2 separate regions of the Homo sapiens genome follow, and region 2 is linked to region 1. Evidence: promoter capture Hi-C in 16 types of primary human blood cells and fetal thymus (Javierre and others, 2016). All regions are on one chromosome and are shown on one strand. The core of a region is centred on a gene start or on the middle of the fragment in contact, and the rest is flanking DNA. Distances in the headings are between cores, read along the strand shown.

The links. The method cuts DNA at HindIII sites, captures the fragments that hold promoters and counts their contacts. A CHiCAGO score of 5 or more calls a contact.
Region 2: a contact is called between a fragment that was not itself captured here and the fragment with the promoter of POFUT2 in region 1, in 5 of 17 cell types (non-activated CD4 T cells, M2 macrophages, activated CD4 T cells and 2 more). The highest score is 6.0, in non-activated CD4 T cells.

What each region holds. Positions count from the first base shown.
Region 1 is chr21:45,284,549-45,290,073 of GRCh38, reverse strand. POFUT2 (protein O-fucosyltransferase 2) reads left to right here and starts at 2,179. Exons shown (of 9, transcript NM_133635.6): 1 at 2,179-2,333; 2 at 4,146-4,396. The coding sequence starts at 2,203. LINC00205 (long intergenic non-protein coding RNA 205) reads right to left here and starts at 2,022. Exons shown (of 3, transcript NR_026943.1): 1 at 1,830-2,022; 2 at 636-723. RefSeq lists an enhancer at 838-1,568 and a silencer at 1,723-2,252. The HindIII fragment of the contact is 9,019 bases long and covers 51-5,525 here.
Region 2 is chr21:45,592,356-45,598,094 of GRCh38, reverse strand. LINC01694 (long intergenic non-protein coding RNA 1694) reads right to left here and starts at 4,441. Exons shown (of 2, transcript NR_146912.1): 1 at 4,387-4,441; 2 at 1-1,704. The region is part of intron 1 of LOC107985485 (a long non-coding RNA gene); the gene reads left to right. RefSeq lists a silencer at 1,046-1,340 and an enhancer at 1,885-2,386. The HindIII fragment of the contact is 5,607 bases long and covers 1-5,483 here.

The DNA of each region.
Region 1 (5,525 bases), core at 930-3,429:
ATTTTAATTTCTGCTTCACATAGTGTAAATCAAAAATAAAACTCTAAGCTTCCCCAACCCACTGAATGGATCCCTCATCTCCACCAGGGGGATTCTGAAGAACCTGAAAAATGAGCTCAGGCCAGGAAGGGACGGGGATTGGACATGGCTCATTATACCCACCTCCCTTTGGAGTTCAGGTGCAGCTGACCAGACTGACAGCAGACTCCATAGCAGCAAGACACCAAGTTCCAATCTGACGCTGGTATAGCATCACGTGACAACAGGCCCTCAAAGTATCAATGTATTTTACCCCAAAATATATCTCTTTGACAAATTTTGAAATGGCCCCGCAAAGCGGTGTCTTGTGGGGAAATTCATATTCTGTAGACTCCCCTTCCCTTTCCAGCTCTTTTTCTGATCCTGAGGAGACTGGCTGAGAGTCTAGTGCCTTTTGAAGGTCTGAATAGGAAACATTTGCCATGTATTGCCTCTGAGGGCGGACACCTATGAGATTTCATCCACATAATAAGGACCTCGGTCTCCACAGCCCCTTCTCTTAACCCAGACACTCCTTTCTATTGATTCCAAGCCTTCAGATAGTAACTTCTTTCAACCAACTGCCAATCAGAAACATCTTTGAATCCACCTATTACCTGGAGGCCTTTCCACTTGGAGTCGTCCTGACTTTCTGGATCAATCCAATGCACACCTCACATGTACTGACTGATGTCTTATGTCTCCCTGAAATGAATAAAACCAAGCAGTAAAACAACCGCCTTGGGCCAAGTTCTCAGGACGTCCTGAGGCTGTGTCATGGGTCATATTTGGCTCAGAATAAATCTCTTCAAGTATTTTACAAAGTTTGGCTTTTTTTGTAAACAATAGGCAGATATAAATTCCATTTGCTAATTTTTTTAAATGCTGTGTCTTGGTTCATGAAAGACATTGGTCTGTGGTTCTACTGTCTGGTGATGTCTGACTTTGCTATCAAGGCAATGCTGGCCCATACATCGAGCAGGGAAGTGCCCCTCCTCGTCCATCGTCTGAGTGGCTGGATTCCTATTATTTCTTCTCTAAGTAGGATTCACCAGCTTGGCCCTCTGGGCCTGGAATTTTCTGTGTGAGAAAATTTGATAACAAATTGATCTCAAATTTAACAGATAATAAGCATTAGTATTTTCTTTTTTGGTAACTGGCATCCTTCAAGAAATTCGTCCAATTATACCGTTTTGGGGGCTGCCTGCACTAGAGTCAGCGTGGCGTCCCCTCAGAAGGCCGGGTTTGCCAGCGCCGCGCCCCAAGCCAGGTCGGTCGGCCAGTGCTGGTGCCCTCGGGGAACAGCGGGAGCTGCCTGGAGGCTGCGGGGAGCGGCGGCGGCGGGCACGCACCTGGCTCCCGAAACCAGACCTTTAATAACGCCTCGCAGAAGGGGCGGGGTGGGAGGTTGGCAGCGCAGGGGCGGCAGCCCCGGATCCCCCCAGGTCTCCAGATCACCCCATCGAGCCCCGCGCCCTAGCAGCACAGTCCCTCCAGGGCTCCTTGGAGGGCCAGGCCTCAGCCCGGGTGCCCCCTCGCCGGGGCTCCAGGGTTGGGGGCACCCAGGAGGCCGCAGGTGTGGAGCTCGACGGCGCCCCCCGACTAGAAACCCAGGCTCTCATGCGCGGCTCCCGCCCCGACCCCAGCTCCAGAGGGGCGAGAGCACCCGGCGCCGACCCCGTCTACGGACCCCCTCCTCCGCCCCGCCCCCGCCGTCCAGCCCTCCCGCCCCTACCAGCCCCGGGCCTCCTCCCCACGGACCCGCCCCGCGCCACCAGCCGTCAGCCCTCCCGGCCCCCAGTCTCGCGTACCCTCCCCACTGGCCTGCAGGGTCCACCGACTTCCCGACCCCGGGACCTCCCGACCCCCGGACCTCCCGGCCTCGCGGACCCTCAGGAGCCCCTGCGTGGGCTGCGCCAGGGCGCCCGCGACAGCACCGCCGCGAACCACAGCCACGGCCTCCGGGTCTGCAATGGAACCTCTAGCCGCTGCGGTCAGGAGGGCGGAGACTCTGCGCACGCGCAGTTCCCCCTCCCGCCCCTGCTTGCCGGTGATGGCGCATAACGCATGCGCGGGGAGGGCGGAGCTGGGCGTTGCCGTGGCTACTGGGAACGCATTTCACGGGGGCGGGGCGTGGTTCCGGGGCGGGGCGCGGCCGCCGGAAGTGCGTGGCCGCCCGGGGCCATGGCGACACTCAGCTTCGTCTTCCTGCTGCTGGGGGCAGTGTCCTGGCCTCCGGCTTCTGCCTCCGGCCAGGAGTTCTGGCCCGGACAATCGGCGGCCGATATTCTGTCGGGGGCGGCTTCCCGCAGACGGTAAACGCGCGTCCACGGTGCCAACGCTGGGGTTCCAGGACCGGGCAGGGTCAGAGGATGGGATGGGGGCGGGGCGGGGTCAGGGGCCAGGGAGATGGGATGGGGTCAGGGGCAGGCCCACGGGATGGAGGGTGGTCCGGGGCCAGGGAGATGGAATGGAGCGGAGTTATGGGGCAGGGGCCAGGGGGATGGGATGGAGCGGGGTCAGGGGGCAGGGGTCAGGGGAATGGGATGGGGTCAGGGTTCTGGGGCAAGGAATGTGGCGGAGTAAGGGGCCAGGGTGATGGTATAGGGGCAGGGGGCAGGGGCCAGGAGGGATGGGATGGGGGCGGGGCAGGGATCAGGGCGATGGGATGGGATGGGGGCGGGGCAGGGGCCAGGGTGATGGGATGGGATGGGGGCGGGGCAGGGGCTAGGGCCAGGAGGGGTGGGATGGGATGGGGGCAGGAACGGGGGCCCGAGGGATGGGATGGGGGCGGGGCGGGAGCCGGGGCCAAGAAGGATGGGACGGGGACGGGACAGGGGCAGGGGCAGGGGCAGGGGCCGGGGCCGGGCTGGAGTCTGGGGGATGGGATGGGGCGGGGGCTGGGGGCAGGGTCGGGCCAGCGGGTTGGCTGTAGTCGAGGCTGCGTCACTGCGGCCCGGGTCTGCAGGCGGGGTCGTCTGCGAGGCCCGGGGCGCAGCCTCGGGAGCCCAGGAAGGGGGCCGGGTTGCTCAGGCTGAGCGTGGGCTGGCTCCGGAGGCCCCTGCAAGTGACACGGGTCCAGGCCTGGGTGTGCGGAGCCGGGAGTCAGTGCCGGGCGGGCGCTCCGCAGTGAATTCTCAGGGCCAAGACGAGCTTCGCGGCCGCCCTGTGGCTGTGGGATCTCCAAGCGGACCCCGGGAGGGGCCTGGACGCAGAGGTGTGCACGGCCCCTCGTGGCGTTCGCAGGCCTGGGCGCTGCACGCAGCTTCACTCGCGACGATGGGAGTATGGAAAACCAGCGCAGAGCAGGGAAAGGAGAGCGCCAGGGACAGGGTTTCTGTAGCCCTTGGGGACTTGTCTGTGCCTTGGGGACTTGTCTGTGCCTTGGGGCGCTTTGTGTCCTTCCTCTAGGGCAGTGATCTTAAAGTGTGTCCTGGATCTCTGAGCTTTTGTAGCCGTTTTAATAGTAGTACCAGAGTATTATACGCCTTTTTCACTTCTCATGAATGCACTGTGGAGTTTTCCTAGAAACCACTTGATCTGTGATGTCACAACAGATTGAATGCAGAAACGGGTATGGGAATCCAGCTGTCACCAAACCCAAAAGAGATTTGCAAAAATTAAGAACATCATCACAGTTCTTCTAATTCATTTTTTAAAATACACTTATTTTTTATTTAAATATGTGGTTTTTGTTAACATGTAATGGCTTCTTATTTTTAGCTGAATTAAATACTTGTAGCTTTAACGTCTAACATAGGACGTATCAATAGACATAGTGCACATAACCAGCCGTCAGTCATTGTTTCCAGTGTAAAGGGGTCTTTAAACCAAACAGTTTGAGAACCATGTGGGTACTGATTCTTGGGTTCCAGTCACTGGGATTCCTCTGCCTTAGTGTTGAACTATTGCTAATTGTTAAAACGATGTTAGCATGTCTGCTGCTTCTGCTTACAGGCTCCGTAAGTAACTGGTCATAGAGAAACAGGCCACTCACTGCCTTCACAAACTAGGAACCATTGTTAAGTGCCTAGAGTCGGGCCACGCGCTGAGACTTGTGAGCAGTCGGGTTTTCCGTGCAGAAACCTCAGCATTTGAGACCTGTGGTCCTCCTTCTCCCTGCTCAGGTATCTTCTGTATGACGTCAACCCCCCGGAAGGCTTCAACCTGCGCAGGGATGTCTATATCCGAATCGCCTCTCTCCTGAAGACTCTGCTGAAGACGGAGGAGTGGGTGCTTGTCCTGCCTCCATGGGGCCGCCTCTATCACTGGCAGAGTCCTGACATCCACCAGGTCCGGATTCCCTGGTCTGAGTTTTTTGATCTTCCAAGTCTCAATAAAAACATCCCCGTCATCGAGTATGAGCAGTTCATCGCAGGTGAGGCCGAGCGGCACGCTGGGAGGCCGTGGTTGCTTAACTGGGGCCAGGCAGTCATTTCTAAGGTAGACATCAGGTTGGGCTTACGATTGCATCCAGCCTCACCAGCATCCTCCAGTGCCCAGTGCTGCTGCCTGAGGCCTGTGGCAGCACCTCCTCCGTTCAGGAGCACAGTCCCTTTCCCACGCTGCAGTGAGCTTCCCAAAATGTTTCTCGGAAATGGACCTGAAGTGGATGAGCTTTGTGCCCCCTCAGTTAGAGCCGCCCTTACACCCTAAGAAAGCGGCCACCCCTGGGTGTTATAGTGACAGGACTCGGCTCCCTGTGCGAAAGGCTGTTTTACGTTCAGGAAGACGCACTGCGTGTGGAGTATGCTTCGTGGTGTCTCAGTGCAGCGCCAGGGATAAAGGTCTGTCTCGTTTAATTTTGTGTTGCTTAATCTTTTCAGTTAATTTTAAGAGAAGAATTAAAGCTCTTCTTAGAATGAAGGTATTTAGAGCTTTTTGTGTTGCGTTGTTTGGAAGAGATAAAGGTAAGTGATGCTTTGCTGCTGCACTTGAGAGGCCTTGAAGACGAATGAGTTAGTTTTGAGTCAGGCTCCTGCTTTCCAGCATCTGTTGAGTTCTTACTCGACAGCCACTCTCGGGGCTTAGAGACCTTTGCTCCCTGCCAAGGAGTGTGGCTCCCGTGTCATCATTTTTCAAGGATGTGGTTCTCGTTGCACCCTAGATCTTGTCACTCTGAAATGTTTTCTGTGTCAAGGTCAGTCTTGTGAGTGCTAGGGGCATGCAACAACAGGCGGTAACCTCCAACATCCTTGTTGATACCAAGTCAGAAAGTCTGCTGCTTGTAAAAAGCATTCCTGGAGTGCGTCCTTTCCTGAGTTGACTTTAAAATTTGCTTGTGAGTCCTGGAAGATGAAAGCTGTGGTTGGGTATTGGGTCTAACTAGCAGCCAGCCCTCGGTCTGAACATTGGGTTATAGGAACCCAGAGATGCTATCCTTACCTCCCTTTGGTACCAGTGGGTTTCCTGACAGGGAAGCGGACAGGTCTGGGCCTTGGGCATCCAAGTGCTTGGGAAGGTCTGGGAAGACAGATGCTGTGTAATGAGCTTCTGAGGCACATATG
Region 2 (5,739 bases), core at 1,431-3,930, 310 kb before region 1:
TAGAAGTGACACTGATAGCAAACCAATCTTTGATGTCTACTTGGAAGATGCAAAAAGACAGCAGGTGGGCAAGGCGCAGTGGCTCACACCTGTAATCCCAGCACTTTGGGAGGCTGAGGCGGGTGGATCACCTAAGGTCGGGAGCTCGAGACCAGCCTGAACAACATGGAGAAACCCTGTCTCTACTAAAAATACAAAATTAGCTGGGCATGGTGGCGCATGCCTGTAATCCCAGCTACTTGGGAGACTGAGACAGGAGAATCACTTGAACTTGGGAGGCGGAGGTTGCAGTGAGCCGAGATCGTGCCATTGCACTCCAGCCTGGGCCACAAGAGCGAAACCCCATCTCAAAAATAAATCAATAGGCCAGGCGCAGTGGCTCATGTCTGTAATCCCAGCACTTTGGAAGGCCGAGGCGGGCGGATCACGAGGTCAGGAGATGGAGACCATCCTGGCTAACATGGTGAAACCCCGTCTCTACTAAAAATACAAAAAATTAGCTGGGTGTGGTGGCAGGCGCCTGTTGTCCCAGCTACTCGGGAGGCTGAGGCAGGAGAATGGTGCGAACCCGGGAGGCGGAGCTTGCAGTGAGCCGAGATCACGCCACTGCACTCCAGCCTGGGTGACGAAGCAACTCTGTCTCAATAAATAAATAAATAAATAAATAAATAAAAAGACAGCAGGTGATATGGTTTGGACCTGTGTCCTCTCTGCACAAATCTCACCGTGAAGTGTAATCCCCAACGTTGGAAGTGGGACCTGGTGGGAAGGGATTGGATCATGGTGGTGGTCCTTCACAAGTGGGTTAGCGCCAGCTTCTTGGTGCTGTTCTCATGATAGTGAGTTATCGTTAGATCTGGTTGTTTCAAAGTGTGCGGCACCCCCTCTTTTTCTCTCTCTACTGCTCCCATGTGAGACGCCTTGTCCCGCCTTCACCTTCCACCATGACTATAAGTTTCCTGAGGCCTCCCTAGAAGTGGAAGCTGCTATGCTTCCTGTAAAGCCTGCAGAACCGTGAGCCAATTAAACCTCTTTTCTTCATGAAGTGCCCAGTCTTAGGTATGTCTTTATAGCAGTGTGAGAATGGATGAATGCACGAGGTCTTCAGGACAAGCCCGATTTCATTGGTTACGAGATGCATGTTTTTCATTCTAGCCCCCAGAGACCTGGATACGTTGCACAGATGCTGACAGCAGGTGGCAGTGTGGAGCAGCGGTGTGACACCTGCAGGGCCCTCCGGGGACACCACATAAGGGCAGCCACAGTGTCCCGGAGCCCATGCAGTGTGACAGCCCCAGGTAACTCTCCAGCCAGCACTCCACCCGTGGAATTACAGCCGACTGAAGCACCTCTGCTACATTCGTCAGCTTGATAAATGTCCAAGGAATGAACCAAGCACAGGGACCATCTCTTCCGGTAGCTTCTCACCATCACACACACTTTGCAGGGCCGAGGGCTCTTCCTGGCCCATATCTAGCACCTAGATATTTTATTCACTTATGTTTTGAATATTTCATGGGTCCTTCTCCCCCAGAGGCCTCAGAGCACTCCCAGAATTGGAATGGAAATACACAGTGTGTCCTTGTCAGCTGTCCGGGCCGCCGCGTTCAAAGGGCAGGACATAGTAGCTTCTGCTCAAATTAGAATGATCTGTCTCGTCAAGCGGAAGATGGTTGTTGAGACTTTGTGTCTTTAAAGTATTGCCTAAAAAAGCAAGATTAAATGAACGCATGAATGCTTGTGCAATACGGCAGGAAAATCCCGGGGGTCTGCCTGGACTGCTCGCCCCAACCCTCTCTACGCGTGGGTTCTGCTGCAACATCGAGGAGAGAGCAGGGGGTGCTCATCTCCAGGCCATCGGCAAAGATGTCAGACTGTACTTGTCCCACAGGCCTGGCCGGCAACAGCAGGGTCTCCCCCAAGTGGGGCTTGCCAGCCGCACTGCTGCATGTGGCTTTGGGAGGGCCTGCGGGAGCCTGCTGGTCCCCATGGGCCTGGCAAGCATCTGCCCTGGTAGACTGAAGTGCCCCCAGGCCCTGTGGTTAGTGGAAGCCTGCTGGCCCCTGGAAGATCTGGGAGAGGAGAGCTGGACAGCTCACCCACCACGGCCAGCATGAAAGGCAGCTAGTAAGCCCCCCTGCGCTGTCAGCCTCTGCTCAGAAGTCTCTGGAGTGGTGTCCAGGTGCTGAGGGGGTGCACTGATGCTGCACTGATGCTCAGCCAGGAGCAACTGGAGCAGAAAGCAGCAGTCATGGGAAGATGCCTCAGATCACACACATGCACATGTGCACACACATGCACAGATACATGCAGACAGACGGACACATGCACAGATGCACATGTGCAGACGCACATGTAGATGTGAGCACACACATGCAAAGACACACACACCAGGCACATGCACACATGCACACAGGAGCGACTGAAACTTACAATAAAGCACGAACAAGTCTACGGTTCCATAGGCGTAGCTCTGTTCCAGCAGACGCTGACCAACTCTCCCATTAAAAACACAACACAAGCTAGAAAAAACTATCTTAAAATGTCTGTTCGAAATCAATGAAGAACTCCTAAAGCAGTGACAATTTTGGGGGCCAAGGTCTGAAAGACGGGGAAAGTAAGGATGATGGGCTGATGCTTGGGGCGGCGTGGATCCGGGCTGACCAATAACTGGGGAAGCAAAAGCTGAGCTGAGCCATGGGAGCCGGACTCAGCTCTCAGCACTCATGGGGCCAAAGGAAACAAAGGGGCCCCGAGAAGCCCCTCAGCTGTTGGTGGGAACCCTGAAGGGGAATCAGCCTGACCCCACCCTCCCAGAGTCTGCAGTTGGGTCACAAGGGCCTCCCTCCCTGGGTGACCACAGGAGCGAGCGCCACTCGGCTCCCTGGAGACGGCACCACTGGTGGCCTGAGACCTGTCCTATGAACATCTGTCACTCAACCAAAAATGCCAAGGGTACAAGATGAAAATCAACCAAAAAAGGTGAAGGAGAAGAAGCAATGCAGAGAAGCTGCAGAGGAGTGGAGGGAGGTGGCCCCAGGCAGGCAGGGGAGTGGGAGGGAGGTGACCCCAGGCAGGCAGGGGAGTGGGAGGGAGGTGACCCCAGGCAGGCAAGGGAGTGGAGGAAGGTGACCCTGGATGAGCAGTGGAGTGGAGGGAGGTGGCCCCAGGCAGGCAGGGGAGTGGGAGGGAGGTGACCCCGGACGGGCCGGGGAGTGACCACCCAGAGACCGGCACCCATGATGAGGGGCTCTTAGGGTGGAAAGGAAATGACCCCCCAGGGTGGGGTGGGAGCTTGGGGATAAAGGAAGGAACGCAGACCCGGGAAAGGGAAGTGAATAAAGAGACGCATACATGGTAGAAAATAATGATAATGTGTCCGGCACGGGGGCTCACACCTGCAATTTCAGCACTTTAGGAGGCAGAGGCAGGAGGATCACTTGAGCCCAGGAGTTTGAGACCAGCCTGGGCAACACAGCAAGACGCTGTCTCTACCAAAAATTTTAAAAAATTAGACTGCATGGTTGTGTATGCCTGTAGTACTGGCTACTGGGGAGGCTGAGGTGGGAGGATTGGTAGAGCCTGGGAGTTGGAGACTGCAGTGACCTGTGACGGTGCCACTGCACTCCAGCCTGGGTGACAGAGCAAGACCCGAAAAAATGAAAAAGAAAATAATAACAATAGTGATTTCCAGAGTTTGACATGCAAGTAGAGTTAAAATACATAAGAACAACAGAACAAAGGGTGGGATGGAATAAAGGGGTGATGTAAATCTTTGGTGGTCTGGTAAGAGATAGCAGGAAGAATTTACACTGGACTTTAACATGGATAACTACTGAATGAACAGTAATTCATAACTGGCAGGCTAAGAGAGGATAAACATGGAATAAAAAATAATCGAAGCCACGAGGAGAAGAAGGAACAGGGAACAAGTAGGAAAAACAGAAAACAATTCATAATGCCAGAATTCAAACGCAGATAATGGAATCAAAACAAAAGAACCAGAAAGTTCAATTCAAAGATAAAGATACACTGGATCCTGCAGGAGACACACCCTCAATGTAAGGCCACAGAAAGATAAATGGAAAGGGAGGTCTGGAAAGCTGGGGTGGCTGCATTAACACCAAGCAGAGGAACCACGGGCAAGGAGCTCAGCAGACCAGGGTCAGCTGGTGGCATGGGGCCCAGCCCACGGGAAGATGCCAGCCTCAAACTACAGAAAACAAAGTTGCAGAGTCCAAGAAAGAAGAAGAGAAATCCACAATCATATAGAAAAATTTAAAACATCTCCTGGTCACCAATAAAGCATGTGTATTAGTCCCTTTTCATGCCGCTGACAAAGACATACCCGAGATTGGGAAGAAAAAAAGGTTTAATTGGACTTACAGTTCCACATGGCTGGGGAGGCCTCAGAATCATGGCGGCAGCAAGAGAAAATGAGGAAGAAGCAAAAGCAGAAACCCCTGATAGGCCCATCAGATCTCGTGAGATTTATTCACTCTGGCGAGAATAGCACAGGAAAGACCGGTCCCCGTGATTCAATTACCTCCCCCTGGGTCCCTCCCACAACACGTGGGAATTCTGGGAGATACAATTCAAGTTGGGATTTAGGTGGGGACACAGCCAAACCATATCAGCATGCAAGGAAAATACTAGCAAGAGTACGCAGTATTTGAATCAATCACCTCACTGATGTTTAAATCACTGCACGTGACAGGCGCATCCCAGGGCAGAGCAGCCGCCAGTGCTGAAATGACGGGGCCATGGGGTGATGGGACCGTGGGGCGACGGGGCTGTGGGGCGACGAGGCCGTGGGGCGACGGGGCCGTGGGGTGATGGGGCCGTGGAGTGATGGCGCCATGGGGCTTCTTGGGGGTACACCCTATGTAACTGGAGAGGATGAAGTGAAGTTACAAAGTCATTTACTTGGCCCATGCCCTATGGAGAGGATATTTCCTGTGGTAGCTGAAGTGTGAACTGCCTTATGCTCCCTGCCTCCAGACCCAATTTTCCTGCCTCAACAGGCGCAGGTTTCCCTGTCAGCCCGCTCTGCACTCCTGCACTCCTATCTGATCACCGGGTGTTATCTTTAAATCACTGTCAGATTTGTGTAGTGATTTCTGTAAGTTTAGATTTTTGCACCCTTGTTCCCAAGCAAAATTGGCTGATGATTTTCTTGTGCTGTTGACGGGGCCCCCGTTTGACCTCATCCAGACCCTATGGACGGGTGGCCATAGGCGGGCCACGGTTGACTGACGGAAATGTGGACGCATTGTTTTCCTCTATTTCAAGCACTGTCATCGTGAACATCCTTGTGCATGTGTGTGTTGTATGTCCACCTGGTGTATTGTGTGTGTGTTACCGAGAATTCTGTGTTCGGATGGATTTTTTAACCGACAAGATCCACAGAGCCAGAGCTCTGAACCAGCAATCTGGGTTCTTGTGACAGTGAGCAAAGAACTGCAAACACCAAAATGTAAGCTTAAAACAAGGTTGATTGAAATTTCCAGTAATACTGTCTCAGAGGGTGTGCAGGCTGATTTCTGAGAAGTGACATCAGCACCTGGTTACAGAGCTCAAGGTGCTTCTGTGGGGTGTGAGAAGTAGCTGAGGTTTGGGCTGAGTGACAGGCTGATGTCATTTGGCAGCTTATGGTGACACAGCTAAAATTAAACTGTGCATATTTTTACCCATAATTCATTAAGAAAAGCCCAGTGTGGGGGGGCCACATGTAAATGT